2 separate regions of the Homo sapiens genome follow, and region 1 is linked to region 2. The links are contacts of gene promoters, found by promoter capture Hi-C in human tissues and cell types (Jung and others, 2019). All regions are on one chromosome and are shown on one strand. Each heading gives the region's core, a stretch centred on a gene start or on the middle of the fragment in contact. The rest is flanking DNA. Distances are from core to core; before and after follow the strand shown.

What was found. Contacts are between HindIII fragments. The study calls those that stand out against the background at their distance.
Region 1: a fragment that was not itself captured here is called in contact with the fragment with the promoter of RPRML in region 2 in 3 of the 25 tissues and cell types used here (IMR-90 fibroblasts, dorsolateral prefrontal cortex and lymphoblastoid cells).

What each region holds. Positions count from the first base shown.
Region 1 is chr17:46,936,991-46,943,759 of GRCh38, reverse strand. GOSR2 (golgi SNAP receptor complex member 2) reads right to left here. Exons shown (of 6, transcript NM_004287.5): 6 at 1,740-5,161. The coding sequence ends at 5,000. It also overlaps a transcript of LRRC37A2 not described here. Among named protein-coding and RNA genes, the nearest start is that of GOSR2, 17 kb to the right of the region's middle. RefSeq lists an enhancer at 1-904. The HindIII fragment of the contact is 4,781 bases long and covers 2,041-6,769 here.
Region 2 is chr17:46,973,759-46,981,334 of GRCh38, reverse strand. RPRML (reprimo like) reads left to right here and starts at 2,082. Exons shown (of 1, transcript NM_203400.5): 1 at 2,082-3,179. The coding sequence starts at 2,328. The coding sequence ends at 2,690. It also overlaps a transcript of LRRC37A2 not described here and a transcript of GOSR2 not described here. RefSeq lists a silencer at 1,960-2,139 and enhancers at 2,617-3,296, 3,297-3,977. The HindIII fragment of the contact is 12,504 bases long and covers 810-7,576 here.

The DNA.
Region 1 (6,769 bases), core at 3,182-5,681, 40 kb after region 2:
CCCTGTGAGCACATGGCTCGTAGCATCAGTGGCCTTGAACCTTCTGGCTTCCTCCTGGCCTGGCTGCAACAGCTTTGCTGGCCCTGCATGGGGGATGGGCTCAAGTGCTCTCCTGCAGCCGCTTACCCGATGGCGCCTGCGCCTACTACGTGCCCGGGATGCACAAAGGCCCCTGCGGTGAGGAGCAACTCCCATTCCGCAGGAAGCGTGCAGTATGAGGTTGTTTGGAGGGGAGGGGCAGGCTTCTTGGAGGTTTCATGGGATTGTGGGGGTGTTTGTGGCACATCTGAGAGGAAACATCTTGTGCAAAGGTGCAGCTGTACTGAGTGTGTGGCATGTTCTGAGAAGACCAAGCAGTCCAGGGAGGACGGAACACCAGGCAGGGGTGGTGGGGAGGGCTGGGGGCTGCACTGCAGGGGCAGCGAAGAGCTGGCCTGTCACATCAAGGTGCTTTACTCAGCAGAGAGGTGTCAGTTAATGAGGGGCACCCAATGGCCACAAGGGATCTGGCTCCTTCTGATCCAGAGGGAGAATCAGGCTTCCATCCCTGCCCCTAGTTGGTCTCTGCAAGTGGTTCCCACGGTGCGGCCAGGGGAAGTGCATGGGGGACGGGCTAGCCTTGGGTTGATGTTCTTGTATTAGAGCCATCGGCTCCCTACCCCTGGGCATTACAATCGCCTTGGGCAACTCCCAATGCCCCGGCTGCACTCCAGGCCAATTAATAAGAGGGTGAATGGAAGACCCACACATGGGTTTTTAAAGCTCCCGAGGGAATTCCAATGCAGAGCCAAGGTTGGGAACCCTGTACTAGAGGGACATGGGGATGAGGCGGGGAGGGATGGCTCACAGAGGCTCCATGGTGGGGAACTTACCAACAGCACTTGGGGGCCCAGCACCCCTGAACACTCCTCTCCCATGTGCCTTCCATATGAAATGAAAAGGACACAGAAAATGGGGAAGGAATGACACTTTCCTTTCTCAGCTTCTAAGTACAGCAGGCCTAAGGCAGTGTGTTCAGGGCCCACTAGCCACAGATAGGGCTATGCCGCCCCCTAGGGGCAAGGCCTGAGGACAGCTTTCACTTCAGATTCCCTCCCCTTCCAGTTAGGAAATTATTTCCCAACAGGGAACTTGCCCTATACTATCTGAAGGGTCTGCAGCAAACACCTTATAGCTCTATAGTCCATGCCAGCAGGCTGCACCATCTCAGTCCCCTGCACACCTCTCAATCCCCCCAGACCCCAGCAGAGCACCCCACGAGAAGTGTGGGAGATTAAGTGGGCCCATGGTTCCAAGCTGGATGAGGGGCCAGCTCCTCTCGGACTCCTGTGAGGCCTTCACAGTCACCACAGCTCAGCCCCTTGTCTGCATAATGAGGATAAATGATGGAGAACATAAGTGAGAGGGTTTCAGATTGGCAGGGATGGAGCCAGGAAAATCCCTGTCTGACCTCCGTGAGGCCTACAGGCAAGCTGTTTATGAAGGGCCTAGGCTTTCCCTTGAGAAAATGTCACCCCCCGGTTGAGACAGTAACAGATGACGTTTCTTTCTTTGCTTTGGCTACTGGAGCTGAAAGTCAAATTAGGGTTCCCCAAACATTTCTTAGGGTGTTACAACGTTTGAGTTCCTTGTCCTGATGTCGACATTCTACACTGACTTGATTTGTTCTTGTGCCTCACTTCTTTGTATCTGTTTCAGTTATTTCCTCAAAGTCTCCTCAAATCTTTTTTGGACTAAGGTAGGATATAAACAGTAAGAATTTATTTTGGACTTAACAAGTTTTGCTCTTTACACCAATGTGATCATCTTTGAGACAGAAGCTTTCTGTCTAGGAGACAGTGGTTCCAAAATACACACATCAGAATCACCTTAGAGGCCAGGTACAGTGGCTAACACCTGTAACCCTAGAACTTTGGGAGGCCGAAGCAGGCAGATCACTTGAGGCCAGGAGTTTAAGACCAATCTGGTCAACATAGTAAAACCCTGTCTCTACTAAAAAATACAAAAAAAAAAAAAAAATTAGCCAGACATGGTGGCACACACTTGTAGTTCCAGCTACTCAGGAGGCTGAGGTATGAGGATCACCTGAACCCAGGAGGCAGAGGATGCAGTGAGCCAAGATTGCGCCACTGCACTCCAGCCTGGGTGACAGAGCGAGACTGTCTCAAAAATAAAAAATAAAATAAAATCACCTTAGAGATTTAAAAAAGGTTCTAATTCAGATCTGGGGTAGGCCCCAGGAATATGTAATTTTAAAAAGCTTCCCCACTGCTTCTGAAGCAGCCAGCCCAGCCCCTGGCCATGGAGCAGTGTTTGAGAATCTCTGGCCTAGAAACATAAAAAAAGGGGGCCATTAGTTATAAAAATGAATATCGAATTCTTTTACAAAATGTGATTTTCTAAATAAAATAAACCTCAACTTTATTCAGCTGATGTGCTTCCAAAACAATGGGTGTAAATCCAAATTTGCAAATCAAACCCATTCAAATTCATCAGGGCAAAGGGTGTACAGAACTCCGCAGTGAAGTCTAAAAAATCAAGACTCCTCTAACTTACTTGGTCTTGGAGTTTGGCTTTTCTTACAGTGGTCCCCCTGAAGTAAATGTCCATGTAATAAAGAGATCTCAAGTTCCTCTTGATAACCCACCTGTTTTAAATCACAATAGGCACACCAAACTCATGTACAAGGTCACAGAGGCTGGCTACCGGAGTTTCTTGCATCAGCTCGACCTAAGAATTCACCCCCGCCTCCACTAGAGGGTGCTCCTTCCCTGGCCTGGACCCTTCCCTACACTGAGGCGGTGGAGAGAGTCACACTGTTAGGCCAAGGTCTATTTTTCACCAGGCACTGAAAGCAGATGTGTGAAGAGAAGTGGTCATGTGACAACATGCAGTCTCAATGCCCCTGGGTGTCCAGACACACTGGCTGCTGTCCACCAGCCGCAGGTGGTAAAGACCCAAAAACCACCTCTGCAATTTTTATTCCAAACTAGAGGACTGGCTCTGAAGGTGCAGCATGAGGGTTCATCAAAGCCAACCACTGTCAAGTGTGGAAAGCACTGGTGCACACCACGAAAAGATGTCCTATCAGTCCACGCATGATGGGTGCGGGGACTTCTGCCTCCCAGAGTTCAAGAACAAATGGCTCAGCTGCTCCCTGCAGACCTTCCTCCAAAGTGTGCTGTCTGGCAGGATCCTTGGGTGCCTGGGGGACAGGACAGCCTTGCCGTCGCAGTCTCAGAATCCATTTTATGGATTACCAAAAGTCCTGCGCTAGGTCCCTGGCACCGCAGCAGTGCTGTGTGTAATGGAAATGTCAATGTGCCTCCCCAGAGTTAGACAGATCTAGGTCTAAAGATGCTGCAACCCCCCAGTCCACCCTCCAGTCACTGCTTTAACTCTGGCAGGGCCCCAACCCATTTTAGGAGTCACAGATTGCTCCTTCCTTGGAAACCTGGGGCCCATTTGGCCCGGAGGGGTAGGAACAATGGAGATCTCCTCCAACCGAAAGTGTGAAATTAGCATCCAGGAAACTCAGTTAATCTATGACAATTAAGAAAACTTACCAAAGGGGAGCTATGCCACAGAGGTGCCTGAAAGGACCAACATGACTACAGAGCAGCGGGGAGGGGAACAAGAGAGGTGAAGAGGAACACAGAAAGGAAGGGAAATAAGACAGAAGACAGTTCAAGCAACAAGAAACTAACAGAGCAGGTAGGGCAGGACAACCAAAGGTAGGGTTAATACTGAGCCGGTTTCCAGATCTGAAGGATTTTGAGTGTCATTTTATGTCTTGCCATGAAGCTGCTGTGCCCAGGGCTGGTAGGCCTGTGGTAAATGAGAACATACACTAACCAGGTCTTTCTGAGACTTTCAGTGATTCACCACATTAGATGGACTTCAGGACAGATTGGCCTTTATACTAAATTCCACAATATACCTGGTATTAGTACAGCCTGAATCCGGGGCTGGTCACAGAAGGAAAAAGGTTGTAGTCCCTGAAAACAGAGTGTTACAAGGACATACACACTACAGATGTCTCCACGGTGGGATCTGCCCACACTGGCTGGGCAAAATGAGGGCCTGGCTGGCAGGTGCTAATATATTTCAGGGAAGAGAAGGGAACCAAAGAATTAGAGATACTAAAACTAGAGCTGAGACTGTAATTGGAAAATCACAAATCTTTGCCTACAGCTACTTTCTAAGGGGCAAAGGCCCACAAAGCCTGGGCGCAGGTGCCAAGCCACAGTCTCTGAACCTTAAAAGCCAACCACTCTATTAACAACTAGAAAAAATCAGTGACTAGGGTCAAGACTGAACACTCCCGGGAAATAACACTGGCCTCACTTTAGAAAAGAGAAACACCCAGCTGTAGTGTGGAAAATCTTACTTGTTATCGGCAATAGCACTACATCTTGTTTCCCCTAGGTAGCTGCTTCCAGGGAATGGTGACAAGTATTGGCAGTCAGTCATCTACATGTCACTGAGGCACAGGGGAGGGTGGCCAGGAGCACGAGGATGTGAATCGACCTACTATTTAATATAATGGCTGTGAGAAAAGGCCTCTTTCCTTTCCTTTCCACTTTTGCTCCACCCTATCAGGAGCCAGAAAGGCCTGATGGTGACAAGGTGTGAACCGTGTGGACAGTCCTGCACACAGGGCTCACTGTGGACACCTTCCCAGGGCACGCATCAGCTATGTGAACAAAGCCACCAAAGCCATTCTTTCCCTCCCCCAGTGAGAGCGAGAGTGAGAGAGACAGACCCGGGACTTCTTTCATTTCCTAAGCACCGCGCATGGTGGTGGCACTAGCTCCCCCTCCAAGATGTCACAGAAAACAGAGCAGGTTGGAAATTAGACCACAATCACTCCCAAGTGTCTTCACAGTTCAGACAGGCAAACATTTCAAAAGGCGGCCTCTGGGCCCCCCTCTCTCTTTCACACACACACACACTTGCAGGCTGTGGGAATGCTGTTCAGCCACTGAGCGTGGCTGGCTCATGTCAGGTACTGCACCACGAGGAACATGACCACACAGGTCAGCAGCATCCCACCTATCATAAAGTACTTGTCCTGGAAAGCCCGCTTCTCGATGAGCCGCATCACTGTGTTGGACAAGCCCAGCATGTTGGCAATGTCAAGGATCTTCTTCTGAGTCCCCTGGGGCAGAAGAGAACAGAAAAAAAAACAAACATCAAGTCGCTTTACCAAGAGTGGGTGAATGGCATCAGGAGATGGAGCTTTGCCAACAGACATTCTCTTGGTCATGCCCAGAATACACAGAAAGCAATATCAGCCAGAAATAGAGCCACTCTCATGTCGTCGACTGATTTTTGATCAAGGTACCAGAGCAACGCTAAGTGGAAAGAAAAGTCTTTTCCACAAATGGTGCTGGAACGACTGACTATATAATATCACAGGTATGTATTTTATATATATGTATCTCTCTTACAGATATGTGTGTAAAAATTGAACCTCAATTCACATTATACATAAAAATTAATTTGAGATGGTTCATAGAATTAAACATAAAAGCTAAAGCCACAATTAAAGCTTCTAGAAAAAAACACAGGAGAATATCTAAAAACTGCAAACAGGCCAGGCGCAGGGACTCATCCCTGTAATCCCAGCACTCTGGGAGGGGTGGGTGGGAGGATTACTTGAGGCCAGGATTTCGAGATCAGCCTGGGCACGTAGTGAAGACCCCTTCTCTACAAAAAAAAATTAGCCAGGTGTGGTGGTGTGCACCTGTGGTTCTAGCTACTTGCGAGGCTAAGGTGACAGAACCACTTGAGCCCAGGAGTTCGAGGCTGCAGTAAGCCAAGATCACACCACTGCACTCCAGCCTGGGTGGCAGAAGGAGGCCCTGTCTCAAAAAATACATAAATAAATACATACTGAAAACAATGGTGTCACTAATCACAAGATGAATGAACAAACTATGGTAAACCTGTACCAATGGAATACTGCTTTGCAATAAAAAGTACCTGACTACCAACATGGAATTAAATAGGTAACAATATGAATGAACCTTGGAAACATACTGGGAGGAAGAAGCCACATAGAAAAGAGTAGCATGAATACCTTTATATGAAGTTCAATAACAAGAAAACCTCATCTATGGTGAAATAAATCACAACAGTGGCTGCCTGGGGCAGAGGGGTCAACTGACTGGGAAGGGGTACGAGGGATCTTTCAGAGGTGAAATGGTCCGGGCCTTGATGGGAGTGTGAGTTACAAAGGCTGATACAATTGCCCAAATTCACTGAATTGTAAAAATATGATCTGTATACCTTACTGTCTGTAAATTATATCTCAACAAAAATACTTAAAATTAGAATATTTTATACTATAAAAAGAAGGCAACATCAAAAAACTTGTCCTCGGCTCTCTAGTTCCAATAATCATTGATACCAACCTATTTACTTTGTAGAGTACAATCTTTGAGGTTTCTTCTGAGTACAATGGGTGGGTCAAGTCCATATTTACAAGAGGGTCTCAAGTGGGAAAGACGGAAAGACACCAACACAATGACCTAAAACCCTTCTATAGATGGCATCACCCACCACCAAAACAAAAGGGCATTTTATTCCTAAACCAACAACCCAAACCATCCAGCCTGTCCTTCCCTACTGCTTTCTAATTTTCAGCTTAAAGCACATTCAATTTCTTAGTAAGAAACAAGTATAAGTGAATGCCGGGGCAGACCCCAAGTCACTCAGCACATATCACCCACTGCAACTTATATGCATGGCATCTAACCTCATG
Region 2 (7,576 bases), core at 833-3,332:
TGGCAGCATCTCACCCCACCTCCCAACACCTCCACATTGGGGGTCAAGTTTTCAACAGATGAACTTGGGGAGACATATTCAAACCATAACAGGGAGCAGAGGCTCTGTGATGCCTGTGTGTTGGGGCATCCCGAATCCCTTCACTCCAATTTGCCATGCCCTTTCCATCCCCTTGTCTCCCACTTCACTGTCACCACTGGAATTCAAGTCTCCAGGCAGCATCTTTTGCCTGCATTATTGCAATAACAAAGTGCTTTCTTTACTCTCCTGCAACAATCAAAGCATGCAAATTAACATACGGGTGAGAAACCACCCCTGCCCCCACCCCCCTTCGCTACTCAGGCAAAGACTTTTAAAATAATGATAACAATGTTGGGGGTGGGGAGCCCCCTTTCCCCACAGGGCATGATTGTACACTGGTATATTTCTGGAAAGCAATTTAGTAGGAAGTACTTTTTGATTCTTTTTTTCTTTTTTTATTTTATTTTATTTTATTTTTTTTGAGACGGAGTCTCGCTCTGTCACCCAGGCTGGAGTGCAGTGGCGTGATCTCGGCTCACTGCAAGCTTCACCTCCCGGGTTCACGCCATTCTCCTGCCTCAGCCTCCTGAGTAGCTGGGACTACAGGCGCCCGCCACCACGCCCGGCTAATTTTTTTTTTTTTTTTTGTATTTTTAGTAGAGACAGGGTTTCACGGTGTTAGCCAGGATGGTCTCGATCTCCTGACCTCGTGATCCACCCGCCTCGGCCTCTCAAAGTGCTGGGATTACAGGCGTGAGCCACCGCGCCCGGCCTACTTTTTGATTCTACAGGTCCATTTTTCAAAATACAATCTAAAGAAAAATCAGTTTTGGCACAAATACTTTGTTACAAGGCTCCTTATGGTAATATTGTTTCTGATGAAAGAAAAAAGAAGACAGAAAGAAAGAAAGAAGAAAGAAGAGAAAGAAAGAAGAGAAAGAAGAAGAGAAAGAAAGAAGAAGGAAGGAAGGAGAGAAGGAAAGGGAGAAGGAAGAAGAAGGAAAGAAAAACTCAGACATCCAGCAGGAAGCTTGGTTAAATAAACTGTAGTAGTCCATACCTTAAAATGCCATTCCTTCACTAAAAATGATGTTGTAGCTCAGTAGTTTGTGCATCACGTGGGAACTGTTAGAAATGCACATTCTGGGGCCCCATCCCACATCTGATTCAGAAACTCTTGGGGTTGGTTGGGGTGGGGAGGTTGGGGGCGGGAGGTGGAAGCAATCTGGGTTTTAATAAACCCTCCAAGGCAATTCAGAGCCATAGCTGTAGAGGACCATCGCTAGGGAAAGTTACGCTGTTAAGTGAGGAAAGGTTGGGAGGCAGTAAGCAGGAACGGTGCATCCCCATATCTGTTATCTAGAGAAAGGCACAAATAGAAAAAGTCTGGGAGGAGTTTATACCCAGGTGATAACATCGACACTCTCTAGGAGGCAGATTATAAAGTTTTAGAGTAATTTCGGTAATTCATGTTTTCTAAACTAGTCTACAATGACTATGTTTGTGTAAAAAAGAAAGAAAAAAACAGTAATTTATTTTTTAATTTAAAAAAAAAGTTAAATGGGACCAAGTTGAGAGGAGGGTGTAGGGAAGGAGGCAGAGAGCCCGCCTCGCCGCGACAGCTTTCACCCCGGGAAAGCTGTGAGGCAGGACCGCCCAGGAGACCCGGGGCCAGTGGAGTGGGCAGCGCCAGGGGTCCCGGCGACTCATCTGATGTCTAGCAAGGCTTACGAGGGCTTAAATAATAAGCGAAGAGAGTCAGGGCAGATTCCGGAATAACTTCACTGCTAAGGGTATCAAATCCTGGAATGGGCACCTTGGAGAGGTTTTCTAGCCAAGAACGGACAGCGGGTGCCAGGAGGGGGTGGAGTTTCGCCGGCCCGCGGACAGAGGCTGCCGGATCTCCCGACCCCCTCCAGCACCGGGACTCCGGGGAGGCTGCGCCCGCGGCGGGATTCCCGCCCCTCGGAGATGCCGCGGGGACCGGCGGGGCGGGGCCGGGCCGTTGCTAGGGGAGGGGCGGCCAGGCGCGCGAGGAACCCAGCGGGCGACCGCTAAGCACACTAGGTTCTCCGGCTCCAGCTCCTGCGCCGCCTGTTGCTCGCTCCTCCGGGCGGTCGCTTCCCGCCCGGTGCCCAGGGGTAGGCGGCCCGAGAGCGCGCAGGCAGCCAGCCTCCCGCCTTCGTCCCCTCCCCGTACCGCAGGAGCCGGTCCGAGGGGTCCGGAGCGTCCCTGAGAGCGCGGACCCCGGCGAGCAGCCCAGTGCACCCGGGACTGCGCGCCGAGACCCCCGGCGCCGCGCGGCGATGAACGCGACCTTCCTGAACCACAGCGGCTTGGAGGAGGTGGACGGCGTGGGCGGCGGCGCCGGGGCCGCCCTGGGAAACCGCACCCACGGGCTGGGCACGTGGCTGGGCTGCTGTCCAGGGGGCGCACCGCTGGCCGCCAGCGACGGGGTCCCCGCGGGGCTGGCGCCCGACGAGCGCAGCCTGTGGGTGTCGCGGGTGGCGCAGATCGCCGTGCTCTGCGTGCTGTCGCTTACCGTGGTCTTCGGCGTCTTCTTCCTGGGCTGCAACCTGCTCATCAAGTCCGAGAGCATGATCAACTTTCTGGTGCAGGAGCGCCGGCCCTCCAAGGACGTGGGCGCAGCCATCCTGGGGCTGTACTGAGCGCCATCTGGGTCCGCCCTCGCCAGCGCTGCTGCAAGAAGGACCCCGGAGACCCGGACCCTCGCCCCGCTCTCTGCGCTCTGCCGCCGCCTCCGGGCGGGCAGCTACGTGCCTGGGGCGCCCGGGCGGGGACGCGGCGAGACTGTCGGCGGGGGCGCGGGAAGGGACTTGGACGCCCGGCTCTGTCCTGTGTGCGCTGCAGCGTTGCGGGGTGGGAGAATGTGGGGTGAGGGTTCTTACCAGTTTTTTTTGTTTGTTTGTTTTTTAAGACGTTCGGGGCAGGGTGGGAGTGGGTATGGAGATGCAATTTGGGACTGCGGTCGCTCGCGTGGGAGTTTTGTGTGTACGTTGGTGCGGGTGGGTTCGGAACACGGTGCGAGTGGGTGAAGATGTGAAGCGTCAGAGTCGCTGAGCTTGTTGGCCTGATCTTGCGTTTGGAAAGAAATCTTGTAATAAAACTGCAGCCGTAGGGCTTCAGGCAGCTTCCCACCCGCGCCTGTGAGGTGTGTGTGTGTGTTGCGGGGCGGAGGGCATGTACCCTCCTGGCGGACACTTTGAGCCCCGTGGGAGACATCTAGCCCCTGCGTGGACGCCTGGCTGGGGAGCCCACAGGTCAGGTCAAGGATCCTGGGGCTCCACGCGGAGGCCAGAGCGAGGAAAGGCAAAGGGAATCGTTTTCTAACGCCAACAGCGGAGAAGGCAGGTCCTGTGGGACAGCCAGACAGCTGGTGAGATTAATTAAATCACTGGATATATGAGTCTAATATGAGATGAAACAAAATCAGTCAGCTGTGTCCAAAACGAAGAAAATGTGAACAAGGAAAATTCAATTTGGCAGAGGGGAAAACTAGATCTAGTTAAAAGTTTAATTATAAGGCCAAAGCCCCTTCTAAGGGCTTGCTTTGTCCCTACCCTTATAGCGGACAGATGAGTAGACGGAAGAAACCCCCTTGTTGCATCCCATAGGGGTGGGGGTTGGCGGCTTTGTGGTGAGGAAGTCCCAGGATGTTTATTATACAATGGAGAAAATGGCCTCCAAACGCAGTTGCCTGCAGGGGACTTGGAGCCTCCCATTACAGGATGCCCCAGCTGCCCAGAAACCCACGCCTCCTGCAGGTGCTAACTTCCCTTGCAGCAGTGTGGAGCAGCAAGAACTGGCTACTCCCTAGCGGACAGCGAGAGGACAGCTCTGCTTTCTGGAAGTTGGGGACAGGGGGACCTGGGGACACTGGAGGAGAGAAGGCTGGGCTTTCTGGCCTATGTATCCCCCACTACACTTAGTCCTAGTGCCAACCCCGCTCAAGCGGTTCTTGGAAGACTTGGTCGGGGAGAGACTGGATTTCTCCCTTTCTTCTCTCTTTTGCTGTGGGTGGGAGTGAAGAATAACGAGGAAGGTGACTGAAGTCTTAGCTGCTTTTAGCTAAGAGAAGCGAAGGGAATGCGATCCCGTGTATTTGGCACTAGTTTCATTAGGGAGAGGCTTGGCACAGGTGGGGTGGGGGAGTTTCTCGAAGGCACAGATGGTCCCTGGCTATGAAGGATCCAGAGTCGTCCTGGCTCCCAAGTGCTCCTGTGTGGTCAGAATTATCATGATCAGGATGTGCCCCATCCCCCAACCCTGGTCGTCCCAATCTCAGACCTGGGAGAATTCAGGCCAGGCCAGTGAGGGGAGGAACTGACACTCCTTGTAAAGTGTCTCTGGGGGAAAAACCCCGAATGTGGAGAATGTTCTGTTGATGGTTTGGTGTGACTTGCAGGAAGTCCAGCCTGATCTGGGGACAGCAGCCTTCAGTGACTCAGGCAACCTGGATAAGTGGCTTCGTCATGTAGGTGGTGCAGTTATCTGGAGTCTGGGCTGCCCTCAGTGGTTTGGGGAATGCAGCTCAGACAGCTACAGGCATTTGCGTAAAATCCCAAATGACCAGAAAATGGTTTCAGAAAGAACACAGGCTTACACGCTTTTCCACCGGGCCAAGTTAGGGCGAACACTGCGAGAACTCTCCTCTAATAAAATAGGTCTGCTACTAAATGTGACTGGGGCGAGAAGAGAACGAGTCAAGAGTTAAATTTGTTTTTTTGGTTTTTTGTTTGTTTGTTTGAGATGGAATCTCACTCTGTCGCCCAGGCTGGAGTGCAGTGGCGCAATCTTGGCTCGCTGAAACCCCTGCCTCCCAGGTTCAAGCGATTCTCCTGCCTCAGCCTCCGGAATAGCTGGGATTATGGGCGCGCGCCACCATGCCTGGCTAATTATTTATTTATTTATTTATTATTTTTAGTAGAGACCGGGTTTCACCATGTTGGCCAGGCTGGTGTCGAACTCCTGACCTCAGGTGATCCACCCGCCTCGGCCTCCCAAAGTGCTGGGATTACATGTGTCAGCCACTGCGCCCAGCCAAATTTCTTTTTTAAAAACTTTTATCGCCAGGCGTGGTGGCTCACGCCTGTAATCCCAGCACTTTGGGAGGCCGAGGCGGGCAGATCACGAGATCAGGAGATCGAGACCATCCTGGCTAACACAGTGAAACCCGGTCTCTACTAAAAATACAAAAAATTAGCCGGGCGTGGTGATGAGCACCTGTAGTCGCAGCTACTTGGGAGGCTGAGGCAGGAGAATGGCGTGAACCCGGGAGGCGGAGCTTGCAGTGAGCCGAGATTACGCTACTGCACTCCAGCCTGGGCGACAGTGCTAGACTCCGTCTCCAAAACAACAACAACAACAACAACTTTTATCATTTTCTTTCCTTCCTTCCTTTATCTTTCTTCTTTCTTTCTTTCATAGTTCCTTGTCAAAGCAAAGTTAACTGTTCTGAATTTGCTGAAAAGGAAAGCCTTAGTGGGGACACTTTGCAGGATTCTCCCACTGTTTAAAAAAATAGTGAAGACGCGTGTGTACTAACGTGTGTTTGGGTCCCCTGTGGTGTACAAGTCTGCACACGTGGGCACATGGTGTGAGTGTATGCTCACACAAGCAGGCACACACACAGGCACAGGCAGCCTTGTGCCTCAGGAGGAAGACAGCCAGCAAGAGTGGGGTCCTGAGAAGGGGTGAGGGCAAGAGGTCACATTTGTAGACCGTCTTAGTTCTCCCCAGGAGTCCTGAGGCCTGCAGGGTGTTTACTGGGCTGCCTTATATAATCCTTGGGGCAGGGGGCGGGAACACTGAGTTACATAAGGTAAGAGTGAATGAGGAACAGTGCTCCAGGGCAGAGCCAGACAGAGCAGAATCCTGAGCCATCCGAGTGGAGGATGGTTCTAGAAAGCCCCACTCACCCACAACTGCTGTCCATTGAGAGCTCTTCCCAGGATGCACCGATAAATCTCAGAGGGCCTTGGGTTCACAAGAGAGAAGGCCTGGGATCCTGGTCTTCAAAATCCTGGCTGCCCTGCTTCCTAGTTCTGTAACTTTGGAGAAGTAGCTCAACCTCTCTGTGCCTCGGTTTCCTCACCTACAAAATAGGAGCGATAGGGGACCCATAGCTTTCACGACATGATGTGTTTGAAGAAGCCGGCACAATGCCTGGCATTTAATAGACGCTCAATAAGGACAATGAGGGTTATTGTTAGTTTTGTTTATCGTATGAACTCTTTCCCTAAAGTACATTTGGTTCTCTGAAATGGATTCCCTGGACATAAAAAAAAAAAAAAAAAAAAAAAAAAGAAAATAGTAATTCATATTTGAAAAGCATTTGCAGTTTTCAGAGTACTTTCATAAGCATGACGAAAATAGTAGCGAATGCCTAATATGCCAAACACTGAGCTTCCACTCCCTCGAAGAAGGTTTTGTAGCTCCTCCCATTGTACAGATGAGGAAACTGAGGCTCCAAGAGGTTGCCTGAGGTAGCGCAGCTAGAAAGGGGCAGAGCTGGGATTCAAATCAGTTTCACTTGAGATGACCTTTTTTTTTTTTTTTTGAGAGAGAGTCTTGCTCTGTCCCCCAGGCTGGAGTGCAGTGGTGCGATCTGGGCTCACTGCAAGCTCTGCCTCCCGGGTTCACGCCATCCTCCTGCCTCAGCCTCCCGAGTAGCTGGGACTACAGGCGCCCGCCACCACGCCCAGCTAATTTTTTGTATTTTTAGTAGAGACGGGGTTTCACCGTGTTAGCCAGGATGCTCTCGATCTCCTGACCTTGTGATCCACCCGCCTCGGCCTCCCAAAGTGCTGGGATTACAGGCGTGAGCCACCGCGCCCGGCGGAGATGACCTCCTTTGCTCCCCACAACACATTGGTAAGAGGAGCAGATGCTCCTCTAATTTCCTGTTTATAGGAGAGGAAATTAAGATTCTGTTTACTGATCTTGTCCAAGCTCATTCATTCCACCGGTGTCTATTGTAAATCTCCTGTGGGCTAGGCACTGTGCCAGGCACTGGGTGAGCAACGGATGGCAGACCTAGCGTCTGGCCCTGGCCAGCGCCCCAGAAACCCTGGCACTTGCTTTGCTCCCCAGGTAGCTGGTTCCATGCGTCTCAGGGCCTAGGTCAAATCCCCCACATCCTGTCCTCTGAGTCGGGGATAGTACTTCTGGGGTCAGCTGTGCCTTCACCAGCAAGATGTCCCCTAGAACGGGGGAAGTAGGGAGGGCTTACATCACCACATCCACTTACTTTCTTACTTACTTGTCTAAGCCAAGTTCACATAGAGGGGTGCACGGCTGTGGCTGCTGGGGGTCGCCCTCCCCAGACCCCAACTCAGTAGTAGATGGAAAGAAGCCTTGAGCTTTGGGGGTGGCTTCAGAGGCAAAGAATGGAGCATGCGAGGTGGCGGGTACAGCAGAAATGGCCCCCATCCAGCATTCCAGTTTGGGGGAAAGGTATACGTGTACACATGTGTCGCACGCATGCACACACATTTAATAAAAAGGACTTAAGTGGGATTTCCGAGTAGTATCT